Regions from separate parts of the Homo sapiens genome. Here all the other regions are linked to region 5. Evidence: promoter capture Hi-C in human tissues and cell types (Jung and others, 2019). All regions are on one chromosome and are shown on one strand. The core of a region is centred on a gene start or on the middle of the fragment in contact, and the rest is flanking DNA. Distances in the headings are between cores, read along the strand shown.

Evidence for each region. The method cuts DNA at HindIII sites, captures the fragments that hold promoters and counts their contacts. A contact is called where the count stands out against the background at its distance.
Region 1: a contact is called between a fragment that was not itself captured here and the fragment with the promoter of IGSF6 in region 5, in 1 of the 25 tissues and cell types used here (dorsolateral prefrontal cortex).
Region 2: a contact is called between a fragment that was not itself captured here and the fragment with the promoter of IGSF6 in region 5, in 2 of the 25 tissues and cell types used here (H1 embryonic stem cells and lymphoblastoid cells).
Region 3: a contact is called between the fragment with the promoter of COG7 here and the fragment with the promoter of IGSF6 in region 5, in 1 of the 25 tissues and cell types used here (small bowel).
Region 4: a fragment that was not itself captured here is called in contact with the fragment with the promoter of IGSF6 in region 5 in 2 of the 25 tissues and cell types used here (dorsolateral prefrontal cortex and lymphoblastoid cells).
Region 6: a fragment that was not itself captured here is called in contact with the fragment with the promoter of IGSF6 in region 5 in 1 of the 25 tissues and cell types used here (lymphoblastoid cells).
Region 7: a contact is called between a fragment that was not itself captured here and the fragment with the promoter of IGSF6 in region 5, in 1 of the 25 tissues and cell types used here (dorsolateral prefrontal cortex).

The regions. Positions count from the first base shown.
Region 1 is chr16:23,020,973-23,024,368 of GRCh38, forward strand. It overlaps LOC112268176 (a long non-coding RNA gene), which reads left to right. Exons shown (of 2, transcript XR_002957913.2): 2 at 1,991-3,391. Among named protein-coding and RNA genes, the nearest start is that of USP31, 130 kb to the right of the region's middle. The HindIII fragment of the contact is 4,514 bases long and covers 1-3,396 here.
Region 2 is chr16:22,733,211-22,737,030 of GRCh38, forward strand. No RefSeq gene overlaps it. Among named protein-coding and RNA genes, the nearest start is that of HS3ST2, 79 kb to the right of the region's middle. The HindIII fragment of the contact is 3,246 bases long and covers 386-3,631 here.
Region 3 is chr16:23,451,267-23,455,062 of GRCh38, forward strand. COG7 (component of oligomeric golgi complex 7) reads right to left here and starts at 1,923. Exons shown (of 17, transcript NM_153603.4): 1 at 1,560-1,923. The coding sequence starts at 1,728. LOC124903667 (a long non-coding RNA gene) reads left to right here and starts at 1,477. Exons shown (of 2, transcript XR_007065030.1): 1 at 1,477-1,999. RefSeq lists enhancers at 1,583-1,912, 2,203-2,252. The HindIII fragment of the contact is 22,477 bases long and covers 1-3,796 here.
Region 4 is chr16:22,910,656-22,913,985 of GRCh38, forward strand. All of the region lies in intron 1 of HS3ST2 (heparan sulfate-glucosamine 3-sulfotransferase 2), which reads left to right. Among named protein-coding and RNA genes, the nearest start is that of HS3ST2, 98 kb to the left of the region's middle. The HindIII fragment of the contact is 4,508 bases long and covers 1-3,330 here.
Region 5 is chr16:21,651,076-21,654,610 of GRCh38, forward strand. IGSF6 (immunoglobulin superfamily member 6) reads right to left here and starts at 1,533. Exons shown (of 6, transcript NM_005849.4): 1 at 1,457-1,533. The coding sequence starts at 1,523. All of the region lies in intron 4 of METTL9 (methyltransferase 9, His-X-His N1(pi)-histidine), which reads left to right. The HindIII fragment of the contact is 6,081 bases long and covers 1-3,535 here.
Region 6 is chr16:23,091,805-23,095,616 of GRCh38, forward strand. The region is part of intron 6 of USP31 (ubiquitin specific peptidase 31); the gene reads right to left. Among named protein-coding and RNA genes, the nearest start is that of USP31, 56 kb to the right of the region's middle. RefSeq lists an enhancer at 1,792-2,338. The HindIII fragment of the contact is 3,212 bases long and covers 249-3,460 here.
Region 7 is chr16:22,781,142-22,784,793 of GRCh38, forward strand. No RefSeq gene overlaps it. Among named protein-coding and RNA genes, the nearest start is that of HS3ST2, 31 kb to the right of the region's middle. The HindIII fragment of the contact is 5,109 bases long and covers 1-3,652 here.

The DNA.
Region 1 (3,396 bases), core at 853-3,352, 1.4 Mb after region 5:
GGCTGTTCACCGTCTCATAGAGACATTCACCATTGCTACTGAGTGTGGATAAAACTATGGACACCAGGGTTCAATTTCTAGCTATTCTACTCTGGCTGTTTGCCCTTGGAAGTTATTTAGCATTCCGTGCCTCTGTTTGCTCATCTGGAAAATGCAGAAAACATTCGTATCTGCCTCACTCGTTTAAAAGAATCAACGTTCTTAGGACAGTACCTGGCAAGAGTAACTGCTGTTGGTTTGGTTTGAGATTCTGAGAACCACTCTTCTGGATCATTCGCACATGCTGTAGTTTGAGTGGAAGTCATTAGAGGAGTATCGCTAATAGATAATAGAAAATTGTTTCAATGGCCCCTTCAGAACTAAAGGGTCTCTCTCTTTCCCAATGTCTGTGTTAATTCCTATAAAAAGACTCAGACCCGACATGGCTTCCAGCCCTTCTGGACCCCTCCTCAGTCTTGTGGGACTGATGGGTTCAGCACTCACATGCCCCACCCTGACTGTAAGAGCATGGGCCTTGTAATCTGTAAGAGCCCAGGCTCAAGACATCCCAAAAGACTCCTGTCTTGCTCTGAGTCTGTGCTGCTGGGAGGTGAGCGGAATGCAGTGACATGGAAAAGAAATGAATGGAGCAGAGGGGAAGTGGAAGAGAGGAGTGAGAGGAGCTTGAGTTGAAGTGGGAGGGATGGGGGTGGCCAACAGGGGGAGAGAGGAGGGAGATGGGATGGGATAGGATGAAGGGAGGAAGAGAGAAGTGGTGAAGTGGGGTAAGATGGGACTTATCTCCTGACCAAGCACACGTCTACCCCTGACATAGTCATCTAAACATGGAATCAGGGGATGATGATTTGGGGAGGGGACTTCAAGGTTGTCCTCCTTAGTAAGATCAACAAGAGGGAAGAGAACAGCCACTGTACAGGTAGGTGCAAGTATGGATCCCTCTGAGTGTACCTTTTGGTGCTTACCTACTCAAAGCTCACCAAGCCCTGTGCTTCCCTCTTCCTCAACCTGCAGAGCATCTCCCAGAACCCAGCCATGCCCTTAAACATTCCACGAAGACCTTAGTGAAGCACTATGACTTTCAAGCTTTGTTTTCATCCAGTCATTAGTGGCAGAGGCCACCAGGCTCCCACAGTGAGCCTTCATCAGTGGGAGTCAAATCCCAGGCATCAGGTGAGGACACTGGTGATTAGGTGACTTCCTCCTGTCCCACAGCCAGTGTCAGAACCTTGTTGAAAATCTACATATTCAGATTCCCAATTTAAATCATGTTGGAGATGGGCTGACAACTGAAGTGGGAAATAGACTCCAAGAAAAAAAAAAAGAAGTCTGTAAATCAGTGCCTTGCTACTCCTCAGCCCAGGGGAGCTACTCCCACGTCAGGACATGCCCTCCCTTTCCCTCTCCCCAGACAGAGCTCAGGGCACCCCACAGAGGGTCTCTGAAGAGGGAATGCCAGATTGGAATCCTCAAATATCTGGGGAGCTGGCCAGGTCTTGGCATTCCAGGGTCATAGATTCACTAATGACTCCCGTTGTTGAGCAGAGCTTGGACTGGTGGGCAGAGTGCTAGGAGGCATAATAGCAAGCAAGGTGGGCCAGGCGTGGTGGCTCAAGCTTGTAATCCCAGCACTTTGAGAGGCCAAGGCAAGTGGATCACCTGAGGTCAGGAGTTCAAGACAACCCTGGCCAACATGGTGAATCCCAACTCTACTAAAAATACAAAAGTTAGCCAGATGTGGTGGCATGCACCTGTAGTCCCAGCTAGTCAGAAGGCTGGGAAATACCAAGCGATTCAAGAGAATCGCTTGAACCCAGGAGGCAGAGATATACCTAAGAAGTCCAGAAGTGGATGCTTTGGATATAAATACAGGTAGGTGATATAGAAAAAAGACCCAGACAAGGAGATGTCGATGCTCATGTTTCATCATCAGATTTCTGCCTCTCTTCCTCCATCTGCGGCCTCTGATTTTCTGTGTTTAATTTATTCTCAGGCACACTACTTCTACGTGGTGGGGAAAATGGCACTTGGAAAATTCAGTTTCAATGGTCCTTTCAGAGCTACAGCATCTGTCTCTCAATGTCTATGTTAATTCCTCTAAAAGGACTCAGACCTGATGTGGCTCCCAGCCTTCTTGGACCCCTCCTATCTGTGGTACTGATGGGTACAGAACTCACACACCCTACCCTGGGTGTGAGTAAGAGCATGGGCCTTGTAATCTTGGCTTGTTTGGAAAGAGGAAGGGGAAATTCCAGAAGTGAAGGTCATAACAGTTTTCTGTCAGATGGGGTGGTGGCTCAAAGCAGAGGTTATGAGCCTGAGTATGTAGCTCCATCACCCAGTGTGAACTTGGGCAAGTCCTTACCTTTTCCCCTCTGCATCCTCTCCATCCACTTCCCTCACTGACATTCCAAAACACACACACACACATACACACACACACACACACACACACATTTTTATTTTAAGACAATTGTTGATTCACATGCAGTTTTAAGAAATGCTAGAGATCACAGACCAGGCACAGTGGCTCATGCCTGTAATCCAGGCACTTTGGGAGGTCGAGGCAGGTGGATCACTTGAGGTCAGGAGTTCGAGACTAGCCTGGCCAATGTGGCGAAACCCCATCTCTACTAAAAATACAAAAATTAGCTGGGAGTGTTGGCATGCACCTGTAATCCCAGCTACTCAAGTGGCTGAGGCAGAAGAATTGCTTGAACATGGGAAGCGGAGGTTACAGTGAGCCGAGATCGCACCACTGCACTCCGGACTGGGCAACAGAGTGAGACTCTGTCAAAGAATGAAAGAAAGAAAAAGTAATAATAGAGATCACAGAGCACTTTACTCAACTTTCCCCATAGTAACATCTTGCATACATGTAGTACAATATCACAACCAGGAAATTGACATTGATACCATCCACCAATCTTAGATTTTGCCAGCTTTACATGCACTCATGTGAGCTTGTTTGTGTGTTTAGTTCTATGTAGTTTCATCATGTGCACAGATTTGTGTGGCCACCGCCACAGTCAAGATCTACCACCAAGAGGTCTGTTGTGCTGTCCTTTTATTGCAACATCTACCTGCCTCCCTCCCCTACTCTCTGATCTGCAGCGATCATTAATCTGGTCTTCATTTATAATTTTGTAATTTCAAGAATGCTATAGAAATGGAATCATACAGTAGGTAACCTTTCAGGCCTGGCTTTTTCTTTCACTCAGCATAATTCCCTTGAGATCCATCCAAATGGTTGCATGTATCAATAGCTTGTTCCTTTTTATTGCTGACTAGTAATTCATAGTATGGATGTTCCACTGTTTAACTGTTTGCTTTTTGAAGGACATTTGGATTGTTTCCAATTATTGGCTGTTATGAATAAAGCTGCTATGAACGTTCATG
Region 2 (3,820 bases), core at 759-3,258, 1.1 Mb after region 5:
GTGCTCGCTGTGGTCCTGCCAATTTCTTCCTGGCAACACAGGGCAAGAGCTGGCATGAATTAATAGCCACCATTCATTGAGCATCAAGTTCTATGTGCCTGGCACTGTGATAAGCATTCTATATGTTTGAATGTGCACAAACTTTTATGAGATAGCTACCGTTATTATCTCCATTGTACAGATGAGGAAACTGAGAATCACAGAGAAGAGGAGGAATCAGAACTTGAACCATGGCAGACAATCTCAGGAGTCCATAATATCTTAACTGTGATACTATAAATGCGTGTCAACAGAAAGCAAATCTTTCTGTTTCTTTTAAAAAGTTGGATATTTTGACTTTTGGAGTAAATATTCCTAGGGTCACTGATTTTTCACTCACTGGCTCTTGCTTTTTTGCAACAGTTAAAGTCATAATCAATTAAATTATTTAGCATATACACCTAATCTGTTCCAGGAGCTCTCTACACTTTAGGGATATAAAAATTAGGATAGACTTGGTATTCTAGTGAGTCTAGAAGTTCACAGTCTAATAATAAAGATGTAAACAAATGACCACAGCAGGCTGCAGATTGGATTATATAAAAATATAACTAATAATAACATAGCAGATAACATTTGTCGAGCACTGACAACATGCTAGACATTGTGTTAAGTACTTTACAGACATTATCTTGCATGAGATTCTACAGATGAGGAAACTAAGGCTTAAAGAACCATCCCCTGCCCACGGTAGTGCTGCCAGATGAAATTCAAATTTCAATTAAACTTGTCCCATACTTATACCGAAAAATTATTCATTGTTTATCAGAAATTCAAATTTAACTGTGTATTCTGTATTTTTAGTTGCTGAATCTGGCAACCCATGTCCAAGGTCACCTTTGAACCCAAAGCTGTTTCACGCTGGAGATGAGGCTTGCCATCCCCACCACACACTGTACCTAAAACACCCACACAACCAACAGGCAGCATGCTTTCAAATGCCCCTTGGAGCCGGGTAATCTTCAGACCTTACTGGCCTTCTAGAGTCAATGCACCAGAATGGTATAGGCACTCAGAGAAATTAGCGGTGTGTGTGTGTGTGTGTGTGTGTGTACAGAGATGGAGACAGGAGGTAAGGGGGAATCTTGCCACCTTTGCCCTCCAGGTGCCGAGGAGACAGCAGCTAAGCAGCAAAATGAGTGCTCATCTCTGGGCTGCTCCTTCCGGAGGGAAATCAATGATTTAGTTAAAGCCTCGCCTGCCCAGTGCTGCGGATTGGGGCCATCCCGAAGGAGCTGCTCTGCAGAGCCTTTTTATAAACCGGCATCAATTTACACTCCAAATGAAGTCCTAATAAACTGCTGCCGCAGCCCTGCCAGGAGTAGGCCGGGTAAACACTTCCTTTTAATAAAACACGTGCACACTGGTCTCAGCAGGGCTGGAGCTTTTGTGCACACAGCGTCGGAGCCTGGACCCAGGGGCCTGGGGGAAGAATCCCTGCACAGCCCATTGGTGTAAGTTCATCTGTTCTCACTCGCCCAGGTCGCTGCTCCTGGTCTTTAGATTCCCAGTGTGGGAGAAGCCTTAGATTTCCACCAGGGCAATCCCACATTGGATGCTGCTGGAACTCTAGTGTTTCCCAACAATCCGTCCACCATTCCTCACCGCTTTCCTTGGGGGAACAGTGAAGCCATGCTTGTTAGGAACTCTGGTCTAGAGTCAGGAAGTTTGAATTCACGTACAGATTCGATCTCTTGCTAGCTGTGTGACCTTGAGTGTATTTACTCAGCTTCTCTGTGCTTTGTTTTATCATTTATAAAATAAAGATAATAGCATCTACCATTTAAAGTTGTTGCACAGTGATTGGCATAAATACTTAGTTACAACTGTTATTGTGATTTTATTACTAAACTGGCTTTATATATCATGATGTGACATTGTTAGCACATAATGAGTGCTCAGTAAATGGTATAGTATTTGTATTATTATATTTAATATGATTACAAGAATTGGTAATCCATATCAGAAAAACCTTTATAACTTTGAGACAAGGTTATGTTGCTATAAATTCTATCTGTTGTCCTAACTCCATCCTCCTGAAACTAAACAAAACAAATTTAATCCTAACAACCTTCACATATTTGCCCCACTCCCAAATGTGTCCTAAATTCTGTTTCATTTAGGTGAAACTGCACCAATTACTTCAGCTACTGATCCAAAGATGCCCTAGTTTTTTTCCTAGGAAGCCTCATGTTTAAAATGAGGAATCAAATACTTATCTTCCAGGAAGGCCTAAGTTAGTGCTCATTAAAGCTCTAAGTTTGTAGCACAAAGTAAGTACTCTTTCCTTCTGCCTCCCACGTGAAAACAGAGCGTCCTAGTCCCACCTCCCGAAAGCCAGCCTAGCTAGTGATTATGACTGGGGTAGTTTGCCTGGGTGCAAAGCTGGCTTCATCAAAGCCGTCTGACCTTGGGCAAGTTATGTAACCTCTCTTTGCTTCACATATGTCACCTGTAAGATGGCAATAATAACACTGTGTGCTTGTGTTGATTTGCTGAGACAATCCGGGTAAAGCATGTAGCACAGTGCCTGGTGTACAGTAGGTTCTCAATCCATCTTGGGCGATTATTATTCCAAGTGAGCCACACAGAACTAAAGGTAGTGCTCAAGAGGAGAGCACTGTTTCTGCCTTAGTCCTTTTGTGTTGCTGTACAGGAATCCCAGAGCCTGGGTAATTGATAAAGAAAAGAGGTTTAGCCGGGCACCGTGGCTCACACCTGTAATCCCAGCACTTTGGGAGGCCGAGGCGGGCGGATCACGAGGTCAGGAGATCCAGGCCATCCTGGCTAACATGGTGAAACCCCGTCTCTACTAAAAATACAAAAAAATTAGCCGGGCGTGGTGGCGGGTGCCCGTAGTCCCAGCTGCTCGGGAGGCTGAGGCAGGAGAATGGCGTGAACCCAGGAGGCGGAGCTTGAATTGAGCCGAGATCGTGCCACTGAACTCCAGCCTGGGCGACAGAGTGAGACTCCATCTCAAAAAAAAAAAAAAAGAAAGAAAGAAAGAAAAGAAAAAGGTTTATTTGGCTGATGGCACAAGAAGCACGTACAAGAAGCATGATGCCAGCATTTGCTTCTGGTGAGAGCCTCGGACTGCTTCCACTCATGGTTCAAGGGAAAGGGAACTGGTGTGTGCAGGGACCACATGGTGAGAGAGGAGGCAAGAGAGAGGGGAGGGAGGGTCCAGGCTCTTTTTTAAATAACCAGCTCTCATGGGAACTAATAGAGCAAAAACTCACACCCCTCCTGCCCTGCATGGAGGCCATTCAACTATTCATGAGGGATCTGTCCCCATGACCCAAACACCTCCTGCCTCCAACATTGGAAATAAAACTTCACCCTGAGATTTGGCGGGTCCAAACATCCAAACTGCAGCAGTTCCCTAACCCTTTCTTTGGTCCAGCATCAATCCACCCTCGTTGGCCATTCCAGCATCAATCTGCCCTCGTTGGCCATTCCAGCATCAATCTGCCCTCCTTGGCCATCTTCTCCCACTGTCGACTTGTTTCAAGCTTATAGTCTTTTCTACACAAGCCATCACTAAGTGTCAACACTCCTACCTTATCCTCTACCACCTGTTATTTCCTTTGGGCTCAAATATAGTCCTTCCCATTAATCTGTATTGAATTTCATCTTGCTAGCTTTGTGCCATGATTCCAATTGTTCAAGAAGCTTTTGGATGCTCCGTCTGTCACCAAACACTGGCCAGCACTCCTAGTGTCCTGGCTCACAAACAAAGTGGATGTTATAAAACCTGGAGGAAGAGCCAGAGCTTGTAGTG
Region 3 (3,796 bases), core at 673-3,172, 1.8 Mb after region 5:
GTCTTTCCATCTGAGCCTAGGAGAGAGACTTGTGTGCAGTACGTACTGAATCAACACACAGTGAATCAACACACGGTGAATAAAAGTCAAGTTGAGGAGTTACATGAAATGGTTGCCAGTGCATGTTATTTTTTATAATTTAACTTATCCTCAACAAATGGTTTAGGCCAGGCGTGGTGGCTCACACCAGTAATCCTAGGGCTTTGGGAAGCCAAGATGGGAGGATCACTTGAGGTCAGAAATTTGAGATCAACCTGGGCAACATAGTGCGACCTTGTCTCTAAAAAAAAATTTTTTTTTTTAATTAGCCAGGCATGGTGGCACATGCCTATAGTTCCAGTTACTTGGGAGGCTGAGGCGAGCGGACTGCTTGAACCCAGAGTTTGAGGCTGCAGTGAACTATGATGGTATCACTGCATTCCAGCTTGGGCAGCAGAATGAGGAATGAGACCCTGTCTCAAAAAAAAAAAAAAAAAAAAGGTTTAAGTCTCCACTGAGACCAGCCTATCTTCCTCAGCTGAAATAAAATCCACTAAAACAATGTTTTCTAGATCTGTGTCATTCTCTTATACCTATACTATAATACGTTTTTTCCAGATATATGGATCTGTTGGCTATTCTTTCATACTCTCAAAATTCACTTTTTTTTTCTTTTTACAGTTTATTGTTTGGTACAAAACAGGCTCTTTAACTCTTTGAATAAACACCTCACAGACTCGTGCTCCTAGATTACAAAAAGTCAAAGCCAATTTTCTTTGACACTGGGCTCTTGACTCTGAGATTCAAGTCACTATAACAGAAACTGGAGTTGTTTTATCTTATATTCTGGAAGGTGCCTCAACAAAGACATGTTAAGAACTGGTTAAAACTTCTAGCATTTAAAAAGATCCATCTTGTCTTCCAGTGCCTATGGATAATAATAAAAAGGGAATCCCAGAGATCTGCTATTGAATTATTTAGAGAAGAGCTACTGCAATAAGATCCACTCTTTTAAGTTCCAAAAGGAAACTTCAGGCCAGATGTGGTGGCTCACAGGTATAATCACAGTACTTTGGGAGGCCAAGACTGGAAAACCCATTATGCCCAGGAATTTGAATTTGAGACCAGCCTGGCAACACAGTGAGATCCCATCTCTACAATTTTTTTTTTAAACAGAATTTGTGGGGCGCGGTGGCTCGCGCCTGTAGTCCTAGCGACTCGAGAGGCGAGAGGATCGCTTGAGTGCAGGAGTTCGAGGCTGCAGTGAGCTATGATCGAGCCACTGTAGAGAGACCCTGTTTCAAAAGAAAAAACAAAGAGAAAGAAAGAAAAGAAAAAGGAAACTTATAGCCCAGCCAGAGGAGGAAAAACAACACCCAAAATTAGCAAGTGTTCAAGACAGCCCGGCACCCAGCTGAGACTCCCGCTGACGTGATCAGGAGTTCGGGGCTTGCTCTTTTGCCGAGGGTATTTGCTGTCCATGCGTGCCCCGCCCACCTGAGTGCCTCACGCAAGTTCGGTGACCTCTGCCCAGCCGAGAGCAGGGGAGGGTCCCGCGGCCAGGGCCCCGAGCGGCTCACCCTCCACGGCGTGGTTCACCTCTTGGATGAACAGCTGCAGCTTCATCACCAGGGTGGCTGCGTGGCCATCCGCCTTCCCGGACGCCGCCTCCTTGGAGCCGGCCCTGAAGGCCGCATTGATCCACTCCTTCACGTCGAAGTCGTCTGCCAGGAACTTGGAGAAGTCCATGGCGGAACTGCCTCAGGCCTGGCGTCCAGAACTTAAGAGTTGGCTCCGGGCGGCAACGGGGATGCAGAAGCGAGCGAGCCTGCGAGAGCACCGAGGCTAGCCTCCGAGGCGAACCCCAGAAACGCCAGGACGGGTAACTTGCCCCTTTGCGCTTCCCCGCTCAGCGCACTCAGTTTGCGGCTGGGAATGACCCTCGCCGCCCGCCGTTCTTCTTCCGGAAGTCGTTGGCCGTTACCATAGTGACTGCAGGCGTCCGGAGCGCTGAGCAGAGGTGGGTGTGGGAAAACGCCCCGGACTGAGAGCTCCCGGCACCGACAAATATCCCATGTCTGCTAACATTTGCCGAGGACTAAACTATATGCTTACTATAAAGCCCTGACATACATTAGCGCATTTACGCGGTGGCTCGCGCCTGTAATCCCAGCTCTTTAGGAAGCTGACGCGGGAGAATCGCTTGAGGCCAGGAGTTCTAGGACAGCCTGGGCAACAGTGGAGCGCAGTGGGCAGCAATGGAGTGCAATTGAACGATCTCTGCTCACTACAGCCTCAAATTCCTGGGCAATTGAACGATCTCAGCTCACTGCAGCCTCAAATTTCTGGGCTCCAGCGATCCTCCCACCTCAGCCTCCAGAGTAGCTGGGACTACAGGCGCGCGACAACACGCCCGGCTATTTCTTTCTTTTTCTTTCTTTCTTTATTTTTTTCTGAGACGGAGTCTTGCTCTGTCGCCCAGGTTGGAGCGAAGTGACGCGATCTCGGCTCACTGCAACCTCCGCCTCCCAGGTTCAAGCGAGTGTCTTGCCTCAGCCTCCCGAGTAGCTGGGATTACAGGCGCGTGCCACCACGCCCGGCTACTTTTTGTATTATTAGTAGAGATGGGGTTTCACCACGCTGGCCAGGCTGGCCTCAAACTCCCAACCTCAGGTGATCCGCCTGCCTCGGCCTCCCAAAGTGTTGGGATCACAGGCGTGAGTCACCGCGCCTGGCCTAACTAATTATTTTCTTAATGATGTGTTTTGAGGTGCAGACCTTTTAAAGTTTGTTAAGTTCCTTATCACCTTTTTTTATGGATCATGCTTTTGGTGTTGCGGCTGAGAAATCTGTGCATAACCCATAATCACAAACAATTTCTCAGCCTGGGCAACATAGGAAGACCCCGTCTCTGCAAAAAAATTAAAAATTAGCTGAGTGTGGTGGCGCACACCTGTAGTCTCAGCTACTCGAGAGGCTGGGGTGAGAGGATTGCCTGAGCCCAGGAGGTCGAGGCTGCAGTGAGCTGTGATCACGCCACTGCACTCCAGCCTGGGTGACAGAGCGAGACCCTGTCTCGAAAAGAAAAGAAGAAAAGGTAGGGGAAGGTATGAGGGTATTCTTTAGGTTCTAAGTTTTTATGTTGTTTCAAGAGTGGGACCAACCCAAGGGGGAGGACAAGATGTCATCCTTGGAAACCCTACAGGGGACAGTTTTCCAGGTTGGCCTGCCATTGGGGTATGAGTGGCTGGCTGCCATCTCCAGGCCTGATAGTCACTCGTTTTTCATTGGCATCTCCCTTGGTTTGTCTCATTCTTCTGGGTTGAGTAGGTTTTAACTGGGGTAACCCTTCTGCTAGGAGTCCCAGTTATTTGGGGGGAGGGGAGAGGAGGGAAGGAGAGAGGAGGGGAGCAATGCAGGGAGGGGAGACGAGGGGAGCAATCTGATAGTGTAAGTCCTCTTACTTTGCTCTTGTTAAAAATTTAGGCAGGACACAGTGGCTCACGCCTGTAATCCCAGCACTTTGGGAGGCCGAGGCAGGCAGATGATGAGGTCAGGAGTTTGAGACCAGCCTGACCAACATGGTCAAACCCCATCTCTACTAATAATAAAAAAATTAGCTGGGCATGGTGGCACGCGCCTGTAATCCCAGCCACTCAGGAGGCAGAGGCAGGAGAATCGCTTGAACCTAGGAGGCAGAGGTTGCAGTGAACCGAGATCCGCCACTGCACTCCAGCCTGGGCAACAGACCGAGACTCCATCCCCCCCAAAAAAAAAAAAAATCCTGCTGGGATTTTGACAGGGATTATGTTGAACT
Region 4 (3,330 bases), core at 144-2,643, 1.3 Mb after region 5:
CAATACTAATAAATACGATTTCAACTTTCAACCAAAAAGGGTCTACATAGACTTTGGGCCTAGAAGAAAAAGATCAGTTGTATCAGTCTAGCAATGAATTAGAAGGTTCAAGGCGCCAATGGGTGGGTTTGCAGGAAAGGTAGAAGGGGAAGGGATCTAAGCACAGGTGGATGGGTGAGCCCTTGCATACCTTGTTCTCGGAGACTAGCAGGAGGGGCTCAGGATGGTTGCACATAAGGATTAGCTTTAAGATGGAGGAGAGGCAGGTTGAAGGAGTTGAGGTGTTAGGTTGAAAGCTTATGCCTTTCTAGTGTCATGGGTGACTAGCTGCATGTTAAGGGTGGATGAAAGGATTCAGGCTGGGAGTGTATGATGAGAATTTGAAACATTTACTATGAAAAATGATGGAAAGGGCCTGAAAAGACAAATATAAGATCACTGAGCAGTACTGAGGGTTCAATGGAAGCTAGAATCCATGAACATATTAAGGATATATTTGTAAGTGACAGCAATTTTCTCCAGTGCTGTTTGGCAACCCAGGGACAGAACTGGAAAGGATAAAAGGCTGGAAGGATGCATTATTAGAGACTGGGGAGAGCAATTAGAACAGGAAAATTGATGAGGATGAAGATGATGCTATTGAAATGATTGTTCATTGGGTACAGAGAAGGTATGGAATAAAGTGAAATCAAGAGAATCCCAGATGAATTTGAAAATGGGTATAAGAAGTTTGAGACTGTGGAAAAGGTAGAAAGGGACAAGGTTGTAATCTGTAGTTTCCTGTGGCTACCATAACAAATTACTGCAAACTAGGTGGCTTAAAACAACCAAAATGCATTATTTCACAGTTCTAGAGGATAGAAGTCTGAGACCAAATTGTTAGCAGGGTTGGTTCCTTCTGACTGCTCTGAGAAGAATCTGCCCTGTGCCTCTCTCCTAGCTTCCGGTGGCTGCTGGTGGCAATCCTAGGTGTTCACGTCTTGTAGACATCTTACTTCACACTCTGCCTTCATCTTCAGGTCACCGTATTTCCTGTGTGACTCTTCTTCCCTTCTCTAACAAGGACACTCGTCATTGGGTTTATGGCCCACTCTAATCCGGGATGATCTCATATGCAAGTCCTTAACTTAATTACATCTGCAAAGACCCTTTTGCCAAATAAGGTCACGTTCAAATGTTCTGGGTGGGCTGGGTGTGGTGGCTACACCGTAATCCCAGCACTTTGGGAGGCCAAGGCAGGTAGATCTCTTGAGCCCAGGAGTTCAAGACCAGCCTAGGCAACATGGTGAAACCCTGTCTCTACAAAAAATACAAAAAATAGCTAGGAGTGGTGGTGAGTGCCTGTAGTCCAAGCTACCTGGGAGTTCTGAGGTGGGAGGATCACCTAAGCCAGGGGAGTTTGAGGCAGCAGTGAGCCCTGATGGCACCACTGTACTCCAGCCTGGGCGACAGCATAAGACTCTGTCACGCACACACACAAAAAACCCCAAAACAGAACAAAGGTTCTGGGCGGACATATCTTTTGGAAGGTCACCATTCAAACCTCTACATAGTTTTAGAGTGAAATTTCTGAGTTAACCATTTCAGAGTTAGGGAAATTGCAATGACATGACCCAACGTATGGCCATGAAAAAGAGTTGGTGAAGGGAAGAGAAAATGGAAATACTTGGAGTGTCAAAGGTCAAAGAACTGCGAGGCCAGGGTATTGGGTGGAGATAGTGATAGGAGCCAGGAAGCAGAAAGCTAAGAACCAGGAGTTGATATTCCAAAGGATGTGAGAATGAATGTTCTGGGGGTTGGTAAATCATAGTGTTAGTGATGCAGGGCAGGCGAGCCTTGGGGAGTTCTTGGCTTTGCCCAGGAAACAATTCAAGGGCAAGCCGGTGTTGTTAGACAAGCAACTTTTATTGAAGCAGCAGTGTACAGCAGAAGCAGAGGCACTGCTCCCTGCAGAGAAGGGCTACCCTACAGGGGTGTTGTATAGGCAGTGTATCCAGTGTAGCAGCTCGGAGGCAGCTCTGCAGTCATATTTATACCCACTTCTAATTACATGCAAATTAAGGGGCAGATTATGCAGAAATTTACCACCCTACAAAAAGGGTGGTAGCTTCCAAGTCATCAGGTTGTTGCCATAGAAAGGGATGGTCACCTCGGGGCGTTGCCATGGCAATGGTAAGCTGACAGGGCACACAGGTGGGCGTGTCTTGTGGAAAGCTGCTTCTTCCCCGCCCTGTTTTAGCTAGTCCTCAATTTGGTCCTGTGTCCAAGCAAGCCCTGCCTCCGGAGTCTAGACCCGCCTCCTACCTCATTAGGATTGGGAAAGGTGTTTCTCAACTCTGCCTTCCCATTAGAATGAGCTGAGGAACTTTATAGAAGTATATCCCTTCCCTGAATATTTTGAATCAGTTGTTCTAGGACAGAGCCCAGACATGTTTATTTAAAAAAGAAAGAAAGAAAGAGAAGAAAGAAAGGAAGGAAGGAAGGAAGGAAGGAAGGGAGGGAGGGAGGGAGGGAGGGAGGGAGGGAGGGCGGAAGGAAGGAAGGGACTTCTCGGGTAGTTCTAACGCGCAGCCAGGATTAAGAAAAATGCACGTAAGGGTCAACTATGACCTTCATCAAGAAGTAGCGGTTGGGAACCAGGGATGCTCCCGTCCATCAAGGCCTGAATGAGATGCTCCTGGGAAAGAGACTTCAGTGCTTCCTCCCACATCCCTTAAGGTCTCAAGCAGAGCCAGGAAATTAAAAAGCAAGGGAAAGAGAGGTTACATAGCCTGACTCCTGACTGAGGTCCCAAGCAGCCTGGAGTTCTGTGCTTGTTCAAGCCTACACAAAGGATGTATTTCAAATGTTTTTCAGCAGAAGACGTCAGAACTCATATCTAAAACAGTTGCTATTCCTGCAAGACAAGACTTTTTCCCCAAAAAAAGATTTTCTTAATATATTTGGAGAAATATCTTTTGCCAGAACAATATTCAGTGGCTTACTTTGTAATTTTTGAATATGTAATAAATGCATTAAAATTTTCAAGCAGCTTAAAAGGTTATACAATAAAAAGTAATTCTTAGCCAGGTGCAGTGGCTTGTGCCTATGGTCCCAGCACTTTGAGAAACCAAGGCAGGAGGATCACTTGAAGCTTGGAGTTTGAGACCAGCCAGGGCAACATAGTGAGACCCTATCTCTACAAAAAATACAAAAAATAAGCCAGGCATGGTGGCTTACACCTGTAATCCCAGCTGCTCAGGAGGCTGAGGCAGGAGAATCACTTAAGCCCAGGAGTTCAAGACCACCCTGGGCAACACAGTGAGACCCCATCTCTACAAAAATTATTAA
Region 5 (3,535 bases), core at 283-2,782:
AGCCGGGTGTGGTGGCAGATGCCTGTAGTCCCAGCTACTCGGGAGGCTGAGGCAGGAGAATGGCGTGAACCCGGGAGGCGGAGCTTGCAGTGAGCCGAGATCTTGCCACTGCACTCCAGCCTGGGTGACAGAGCGAGACTCCGTCTCAAACAAACAAAAAAGCCATATTGAAAGTAGGAAGAGAACTAATTCTTGACATTTAAACAAAGCTGTCTCTCTATCTAGTAAGTAAGAAGTAAGTAAATGTCTTGCTCTGTTGCCCAGGCTGGAGTGCAGTGGCACAATCACAGCTCCCTATAGCCTGAAAGTCCTGGGCTCAAGTGATCCTCCTGCCTCAGCCTCCCAGGTGGGTGGGACTGCAGGTGCAGTGCAGGTGCCATCACGCCCAGCTATTTTTTTTTCTTGTGTAGAAATGGGGGTCTCATTATGTTGTTCATGCTGGTCTTGAACTCCTGAGCTCAAGTGATCCTCTCACCTTGGCCCCCAAAGTGCTGGGATTACAGGCATGAACCACCACGCCCAGCCCAAAGCTTTATTATATTAGATTTCAAATTTCTAACATATCAAAGTAGCGAAGTAGTACAGTCAACCCCCTGCCATCACATGGCTTCGACCCAATCTTGTTTCTTTTCTCCTCCCACCTACTCCCTCACTCCCATATTATTTTAGAGCAAATCCCAGCCATTTTATCTGCATCTTTCAGAATATATCTCTAAAAGACAGGAATTCTTCTTTAAAATAATGCTAATTAAAATAGTCTATGAAAGTAATATATACTTATTAGCAAAAAACAGGTTATTAAAAGTAGAAGCAAAAAGTCACCCATAGTCCTTTTGCCTGAAATAACTCCCATTAACATTTTGATATATTTCTTCACAGATGAGAAAAAATTAAGAACTTTCCCCCCTTCCCTGCCCTATAATCCAAATTGTGTGGGCAAATCTGAGATTACTAGATGTATTGGAAATCCTTTCTCTTTCATAGATAAAAAAACAGAAGTAGACAGAATTTTAAAAATAGATATACTATGGGATGGCTATTGGAGTCATGGCAGTTTTTTTTTTCTTAAATGAAAAGTACTTTTATAGAAATTGTTCTTTGAAAATATTCAGCAAATAATCATTTATTGCTTTCTATGTGCAGATCAAGTTTGTATGATAATTAAATTATTGATAACTTATACCTACGATTTTAAGAATATTTTCAACCCTTTGGTCAGATTGTCTCCAATTAGCATAATAGCAAAGAGACTTTTCAAGGTTAATATGAAACTTTTTCTCAGCTATTTTTTTATTGTCTATTTCTCAGGGGAAAAAGGAAACTTATCCTCTTAGGCAGTTTTCATAATGTTATACATTTAAAAATTAATCTGAAGGAGCTTAAAATATAAATGCATTAGGTGAAAAATAGCAGTTGATTTAAATAAAATGAAGGAGGAGAAGAAAAAGAACCTTACCGACACAAAATAGAATGAGATTGGTTTGCAGATGGCGAGCGATGTTGCTTCTGCTCGCAGTCCCCATTTCTGTGTATGCCGGGGCGGGTTGGGGTGTGTATTTGAAAGGAAAGTTGGCTTTCTTTTTTCAGAAGGGAAGAAGAGCTGAAGAGAGGAACCTCTTATGAAGGAACCATAATCAGGAACTTTTTGAAATTGTGCAAGGATGGCTTCACCATTTAACATTGAGATTTTGGCCTGGAGCACATTTAGAAATGTGCATATCTTTTTTTTTTCCATGGATTTTACAGTTGTCATAGGTGTTAGATGTTTCTGGGTGAGATTTTGATTTACACCTAGCACATATTTCCAGGAAGGAGTATTGTTTGACAAATAATTCGTACTTGGATTTTTCAGAACAGTTCAGTCACTGTCTAGGGTACCTGCTCTGGGTGCCACTCTGGGCCAGTAACTGCTGGGAACAAAGAACAGCAGAAGGAGAAGTGGCTTTGTGTAGAGATGAGAAAAGTTAGTAAACAACACATTCTAATGCAGCGAATAAATAAATTGTCTGTTATTAACTTTTTGTACTCCAGTTTTGAATCCAAAGACACCTGCCTTCCCCCCTTTTTTGACAGGGTCTCTATCACCCAGGCTGGAATGCAGTGGCAAGATTGCAGGTCATTGCAGCCTCAGCTTCCTGAGTAGCTGGGACTACAGGCATGCACCACCACCCCTGGCTAATTTTTTTTTTTTTTTGTAGATTCTGTGTTGTCTAGGCTAGTCCTGCCCTCAAGCGATCCCCCTGCCTTGGCCTCCCAAAGTGTTAGGATTACAGGTGTGAGCCACCATGCCTGGCCCAAAGACCCCCTTTTAATGTGTTGAGAAACAAATATGTGGGCCCTCTGTCCTCTGTGTCCTCTCCCCCAGCACTTAGTGGTGATTCAGTAAGGGTCTTCTTTGTAAAGCAGCAGAAACAGACTCAGGCTGACTTAAAAGGAAATTTATGCAAACATTTGAAGGTAGATCCTAGAGTCACTGGGAGGGCTAGTGAATCTTGTGTGGGGTCCACAGCCAGGAAGAATGCCTCAAATCACACCATAAACAGGTCTGAAGAGGATGCTACTGCCACTGCCAAACACTAGGTGCCATCAGCCCTGTTGTCAGCATCGCTCAACCACTGCCCCAGCCCCTTGGTCTCACTGCCATTGCTCCACCCCCAGAGAAGGAGAAGCTCACATCCCCACTACTCTGGGTCACTGGCTCTCCATTCCAGGGCATGGGCAAGTGTGCCTGGCTTAGGCTGCGTGCCAGTGCCTCAGCTGCACGGCAGGCCAGGAAAGCGGCTCCCAGGCCTTGTGTCTCTCCCAGACTCTGGGCAGGCAATTCCCCAGACATGGGAAGAGCGTCATCTGCACCACTGAAAATTATGAAAAATCTCCCCACCATGATATGATGTCTGTGCCCTTGGCATCTGCTCATGATATATTTTCTCATTAACAGAAAGTTATTCTCAGTCTGTTTTGTTTTTTTTTTTTTTTTTTTTTTTGAGACAGAGTCTCGCTCTGTCGCCCAGGCTGGAGTGCAGTGGCACGATCTTGGCTCGCTGCAAGCTCCGCCTCCCGGGTTCACACCATTCTCCTGCCTCAGCCTCCCAAGTAGCTGGGACTACAGGTGCATGTTGCCATGCCCAGCTAATTTTTTTGTATTTTTTTTAGTAGAGACGGGGTTTCACTGTGTTAGTCAGGATGGTCTTGATCTCCTGACCTCGTGATCCGCCCACCTCGGCCTCCCAAAGTGCTGGGATTACAGGCATGTGCCACCACGCCCGGCCTCAATCTGGTTTTAACACTTCAACAGATGTATGTAGTTTTTGTATCACCATAGCACCTAAAAAGTACCCCCAAAGTTAAATATACTGTCATCTCTGTGTGTGTGTCTGTAGTCAGTGCCAGGTTTGTATGTGAATTTGAGGACCTTCCCTAGTCCCCTTGTCCCCCAGGCATCTCCTGCTCATAGGTTTGGAAATGACTGATAGAGGCTTCATCTCTAGTCCAAGAAATGCTGGACGGTGTATCCATCCTACTGTTCCATCTCTCT
Region 6 (3,812 bases), core at 605-3,104, 1.4 Mb after region 5:
AAGAAAACTTTTTAAGCTTAAACACCATAAAGAAATCACAAAAGGAACAGGAGTAGATCTTACTTCCTAACCATTTTAAACTCTGGTATGAGAAAATAAAAATAATAGATATCTGAAGTTGAGACAATAAACTCGTTTCCCAGGTTCTTGGCAGAGGTAAGGGTGGGAAGATCTGTTCTCCTAGAATAGATGTGGACTCCTGACGAGATAAGGGGATGCCACATTGTCAACTGCACAGAAATCAAGCTCTGTGTTCAAACTGTGGACCCATTTACTGCCAGCTGTGTGAGCTGGGAGTGGTTACTTCATCTCCAAGTCTCAGCTTCCTCACCAGTAATGTGGGGAAAGCAGTAGCCTCATTATATATTGAATAAAACATCTGTTAAGGCCTTAGGATAGAGGCTAACGCAGACTCAATAAGGCAGTCTCTGGCTAGAATACAATAACCTTTGGATTCACCAAATTCACTTATAAATAGAAGCTTAGTGTTAACCCTAAGCAACTGGGGTGGGAACAGGATTTTGAGAAACTTTCAGTTGAACAAACATTACCTGGGCTCTTGCTGCATATTAAGAACTATATTGCACTGCTGGGTATAACAAGATAAAGCAAAATGTGGCCCCAGCTCCAGAGAACTTCACAGTGTGGTGGGAAGGACAGAGAAGAAAACAAATCATTTCCACATAACACGCTGGTGTGAGAGATTAACAGAAGTTAACTGCCCAGAAGAGCAGGAGTTCGCCAGCCAGCCTGCAGGTAAAGGGAGTGAGGAAAGGCTCTCTGGACAAGATAATTTAGGTATTTTTTACTGTAATGCAATAAAACTAGAAACAATCCAAACAAAAACACATACAGGGAAACGTAACAACTGGAAAAGAAACACAAACAAGCACCTGGGTCAAAGAAGAATAAGTGAAATAATAGACTATCTAGAAAATATTGTAAATATGAGTAGACCAGAGAAAACTGAATTGTAAGCTGGCATTGGAGAAAGCTGGCCAACCCAATATACAGGATCACCGAAAGAATCAGAAACTGGAGGTGCCAGAGGCCTCTGGAAGTAGAGGGTAAAGTAAAAGAGGAATTAAAATAAGGACTTTCAACAAGAGCACCAAGACCATTCAATGAGGACAGTACAATCTCTTCATCAAATGGTGCTGGGACAAGTAAATATTTACTTGTCCCAGAATGGAGTTTGGTCCCTACCTCATACAATTTATAAAGGTTAACTTAAAATGTATCAACAACCTAAATGTAAGAGCTAAAACTACAAAACTCAGAAGAAAACACAAGAGTAAATCTTTATGACCTTGGATGTGGTGACGGATTCTTAGATATGACGACAAAATTATGAGCAACAAAAGAAAAAACAGACTTCATCAAAATGAAGAACTTTTGTACGTCAAAGAACACTATCAAGAAAGAGAAAAAACCCAGAGAATGGAATAAAATACTTGCAAGTCATATATCCCATAAGGGTCTAGTATTATACATCCTTACAAAGAATTCTTACAACTCAACAAAAACAACTCAACAAAAAGATAATGCAATTTAAAATGGGAAAAAGGCTTGAATAGACATTTCTCCAAAGAGAATATATAAATGGCCAAACAAGCACATGGCAAGATGTTCATCATCATTTACTATTAGAGAAATGCAAGTCAAAACCTCAATGAAGTAACACTTCACATTCACCAGGATGGCTAAAATCAAAAAGATGAAAAATAAATGTTGGCAAAGATGTGGAGAAATTAGAACTCTCATCTATTGCTGGTGGAAACGTAAAATGATCCAGCTCCTGTGGAAAACAGTTTGGCAATTCCCAAGAAGACAACCATAGAATTATGATATGATCCATCAATTCCATTCCTAGGTACATACCCAAAAGAACTGAAAACAGGTATTCAAACAAATACTTGTACACAAATGCTCATAGTAGGACTATTCATAATAGACAAAAGGTAGGAAAAAAACAAATGCCCATCAATAGATTAGTGGATAAACAAAATGTGGTACATGCATATGTATGTATGGAATACTGTTCGGCCATTAAAAAGGAATGAAGTGGATCCGTTCCAAGATGGCCGAACAGGAACAGCTCTGGTCTGCAGCTCCCAGCATGATCGATGCAGAAGATGGGTGATTTCTGCGTTTCCAACTGAGGTACCTGGTTCATCTCATTGGGACGGTTGGACAGTGGGTACTGCCCACGGAGGGTGAGCTGAAGCAGAGTGGGGTGTCGCCTCACCCGGGAAGCTCAAGGGGTCGGGGGATTTCCCTTTCCTAGCCAAGGGAAGCTGTGACAGACTGTACCTGGAAAAACAGGACACTTCTGCCCAAATACTGTGCTTTTCCCAAGGTCTCAGCAACCGGCAGACAAGGAGATTCTCTCCCATGCCTGGCTCGGTGGGTCCCATGCCCACGGAGTCTTGCTCACTGCTAGCGCAGCAGTCTGAGAACAAACTGCGAGGTGGCAGCCTGGCTGGGGGAGGGGCATCCACCATTGCTGAGGCTTGAGTAGGTAAACAAAGCAGCCAGGAAGCTCAAACTGGGCAGAGCCCCTCACAGCTCAGCAAGGCCTGCTGCCTCTATAGACTCCACCTCTGTGGGCAGGGCATAGCTGAACAAAAGGCAGCAGACAGCTTCTGCAGACTTAAAGGTCCTTGTCTGACAGCTTTGAAGAGAGCAGTGGTTCTCCCAGCATGGCATTTGAGCTCTGAGAATGGACAGACTGCCTCCTCAAGTGGGTCCCTGACTCCCATGTAGCCTAACTGGGAGACACCTCCCAGTAGGAACCGACAGACACCTCATACAGGCGGGTGCCTGTCTGGGACGAAGCTTCCAGAGAAAGGATCAGGCAGCAATATTTGCTGTTCTGCAGCCTCTACTGGTGATACCCAGGCAAACAGGGTCTGGAGTGGACCTCCAGCAAACTCCAACAGACCTGTAGCTGAGGGACCTGATCATTAGAAGGAAAACTAACAAAAAGAAAGGAATAGCACCAACATCAACAAAAATGACATCTACACCAAAACCCCATCTGTAGGTTACCAACATCAAAGATCAAAGGTAGATAAAACCACAAAGATGGGGAGAAACCAGAGCAGAAAGGCTGAAAATTCTAAAAACCAGAGCACCTCTTCTCCTCCAAGGATCGCAGTTCCTCGCCAGCAATGGAACAAAGCTGGATGGAGAATGACTTTGATGAGTTGACAGAAGTAGGCTTCAGAAGGTTGGTTCTCTGAGCTAAAGGAGCATGTTCAAACCCATCGCAAGGAAGCTAAAAACCTTGAAAAAAAGGTTAGACAAATGGCTAACTAGAATAAACAGTGAAGAGAAGAGCTTAAATGACCTGATGGAGCTGCAGACCATGGCATGAGGACTTTGTGATGCACGCACAAGCTTCAATAGCCAATTCGATCAAGTGGAAGAAAGGGTATCAGTGACTGAAGCTCAAATTAATGAAATAAAGCAAGAACACAAGGTTAGAGAAAAAAGAGTAAAAAGAAATGAACAAAGCTTCCAAAAAATATGGGGCTACGTGAAAAGACCAAATCTATGTTTGATTGCTGTACCTGAAAGTGATGGGAAGAATGGAACCAAGCTGGAAAACACTCTTCAAGGATATTAACCAGGAGAACTTCCCCAACCTAGCAAGGCAGGCCAACATTCAAATTCAGGAAATATAGAGAACACCACAAAGATACTCCTCGAGAAGAACAACCCCAAGACACATAATTGTCAGATTCACCAAGGTTGAAATGAAGGAAAAAATGTTAAGGGCAGCCAGAGTGAAAGGTCAGGTTACCCAC
Region 7 (3,652 bases), core at 439-2,938, 1.1 Mb after region 5:
CACACCAACTTCAGGGTTATGCTTACATCTGAGGCGGAAGGTCGGGAGGAGACTAGGGCGGAGTATGTGCCTGGGGTGACTTGTGCTTTACCTGTAACATTATAGATGTAAACAAATCTGAATCAGATAAGGGAAAATGTGAACACTGGTACAATTTGAGTGCTAGGTACACAGATGGCTATAATCTTATTTACTTTATGTTTGAAATTGTTCACAAATAAAAACGTCAGAATTTAAATGATCACTATAAAAATACCTTCCGAGCATCCCCTACCCAGGAGAGGCTCCCATCTCAAGCCGAATGGCCAGTGTGGACTCGGCCATTTGGAAAGGGATGCTTGCTGGCATTTAAGCTTGAGGCCAGGCAGACAGAATGTAAATTTATATCACACACTCCGACGAAATCAATAGAGGTAATTTCCTGATTCAAACCCATAGATGTGCGTAGAATCATCCAGATCTACAGAGAACTATACACATGGAGAGGGAGCTCAGGGGGGCAATTTAGGGCCTGAATTATTCAGTGTCTGTCTCACGTCGCTGTCACTTTGGGCTTTAGTTGGGGCGTGGTGGAGAAACATGAATTCTGTTGCCGGACTGGACTCAGCTCAGATGCTCTGACAATAAAGACCTGTGATGAATGATAATTGCGTTTTCTCTGCATCAGTGTATGGAAATCTGTTTATAGATTTGGATTACAAATTCTGGAAGCTTTATATGTTTAATGATTTTTTTTCACCGACCTTAAAGTGCTCTGTACTATTTCAACCATGACTCTGCTTAAATTCAGGCCACTGCTGAATTAACTCTGATTTTGCCCTGTGGAATTAACTTTTGTGATTAAGTCAAACTGGAAATGCCACTTATCCCACCCCCAAGTTCTTCTTATGATTTAGAAAACAGGTTGGGAAGGGAAAAGACAGACATTTGGGAAAGAATGGTGAATGGCTGTTTTTCTTCCTTAGGCTTATAGGAGCCCTGTGATTCTAGACTTCATAACTGAAATCCCTGTTGAGCACAGAGTAGTCCATTGGGTCTCATTTGTGTTTCTCAAAGACCGAAGCAACTGGCCATGAAGTTCAGTTCTAATAGGATTAAAAAATACAGCAGCAGGTAGATGGCTACAATATCAAAAGGTGCTGAGTGACATACACATTAGAAAAAGAAAACTGAATTAGCAGTGACATTTTTTGGCCTGAGGGCTTTTTTTTGGACTGTGGAAATAAAGACACACTTTGATCTATTCTACTTAGAACCTGACAAAACATCAAGGCCAGAATATTGCCTCTAATCTTATTAGTCATTTCCAGACTGTATCCCTTCAGCTCCTCTGTTCCTTGCAGATAAGGCTGTGTGTTTCTCTGAATGGACATTTTATGCTTCTGTTACAACAACCCCAGAAGGGAAGTCATGCTGGGCACTCGTAAGGGGTCTCGTGATTGTTGTGGGAAGCAGCTACTGGATTGGCCGTGACTCTGTTAGATTCATGAGATTTAAGTGTTCTTCCTCAGTGTGGAAACACCATCGCCAGAGGAAGTGAAATGTAAAAGATGGCAGGGAAATGACAGGCAAGTGAATATAAAATTATAAAAGACGCAAGCAGCAAAAACTCTCCTGTTGGCTAATAAAATGCTTCATTATTTTCTCAGAAAAAAAAGTAATGAAATGGGACCTACCATTAGACACAATCTAAAAGTGTTTTTTTACATTTTGAAGATAAAAATTATGCCGCAGGCATTCAAGCAAGAAAACAGTTACCTTTGAAAACAAACACAAACACAAAAGGAAAACAAAACAAAATATATATTTAAAAAAAGAATCTGGCAGGCTCAGACCTTTCTGCTTCAGCGACAAACACTGTCACAGACTGAAGTGATGCCTCTACAACTTTGAGAAAAGAAGATTGTAACTCGATATGCATCCAAGTTGGTATTCGGGTATGAAGAAAACAGAAAAGCATTTCAGAGATCCTCTTGTCAGGAGAAACAGGATTGCAAAGATATCCAAGTGAAAAGACCTCAGCATGTAGGACTTTGAAGCCCGCAGTAAGCGTCTGGAATTTTTTCTATGGATTTTAAGCAAAGGAGTGATGTGATTCAATGGATGTTTTAAAAATATTAATCTAGCTTGCTGGGTAAAGAACAGACTAGAAGGCTAAGTGTAGGAGTGGGCATATGAATGAGGGGGTTTTGCACCCACCAGGTAAGAAATGATGAAGGCCTGGACTGGTGCAGTGATTGTCAAGAAAAAGAAGTAGTTGGATATGAGACCTCTTTTCCAGGAAGACTGCATAATAGGAATTGTGGATAAGTTGCCTTGGAGGTGGGCTGGGGTAGTGAAGGACTCAGAGAAGCCTTCAGGTTTTAATTGTGAGTACTGGGAAGCTGGTGTTGCAACTTACGGAAGTGAGAAGGACTAGTGAAGGCATAAATTTAGGGTTGAAGATCAATGGACTGGTTCTGAACCAGTTTGAGAGACTGAAACTTCAGTGAGGCCAAGGAAGTAATTGGACATGCAAGTGTGGAATCATGAAAGATGTTCCCAGCTCCATACCTTTCTGTGCATCCGCTACTGACCCCTACTGATCCCTCACATTCTCCCAAACCTTCCCATTGACCCTCTAGGGCTCCTATACTGTGATCAATAAATGCACCATCCTTCAAATATTACCTCATCAGTGAAGCATGTCCTAATCCAATATAAAGCAACATATTTCCCCTCCTTGGCCATCACCATCTGGCTTACTTTCTATGTTTATTTGTTTGTTTGTTTCGCCACACTAGACGGCAAGTCCATGAGATCATTGACTTTGTTTTGTTCACCAGTGTATCCCTACAGTCGAGAACAGTGCCTTGCATGATTGGGTAGATGCCCAATCAATATTGTTGCTGGTGACTAGAAGCCCAATAATCTGGATTTTAGCCTCAATTATAACGTCGTGAAACTTCCCTGAGATTCTTCTTAGTTGTGAGGTGGGGATCTTAGTGTCTGCCCTGCTAGCTCATGGAGCTGCTGTGACCATCAGGTGAATTATTGGACCCCATGGCTTAACTGCTAGAAAGATTTTGACATTTTCACAGGCCATGGCCTCATGCCAAAAATGCGAAGCAGACTGCATGAAACTCAATAAGGGGATGTTTGACAATTTTCTATATGATTTCCATGGGGGGAAAATGGGGTGGGGGATGAGGGCCCTAAAGAAATGAGCGTGTTCTCATAGGGAGTTCTCTGGTGAGTTCTGATCTTAAAATGATCAGTACATAAAAGATAGAAAGAGGTGCTTAAAACTAAAGGTGAATACAAAAGAGTGGTGAGCATGGACAAGAATGGTCTCGGGGAGTTTGTGGCAAAAAAAAAAAAAAAGAGCTAAGGCTTGCAAAAATGTTAAGGACGAGAAGAATTGATTTGGGGGCACATTTGAAGCAAGAAGATAAATTACAGGACCGCGCCAACACATGACAGATTAAAAGCAGCACTTGGGTTTTAGTTTGTTTCCGGCAAAGAAAATGCTCTTCAGATTTGAAATAAGAAATCCTTAAAAACGAAACTTAAAGACCAAGGGAGGTATGAAAAGAGACAACATTTTGCTTTGTTAAATAATATTGAGCCCCCGAACCTGGCATAACTGTCAACTCAATCTCCTTCTCCATTT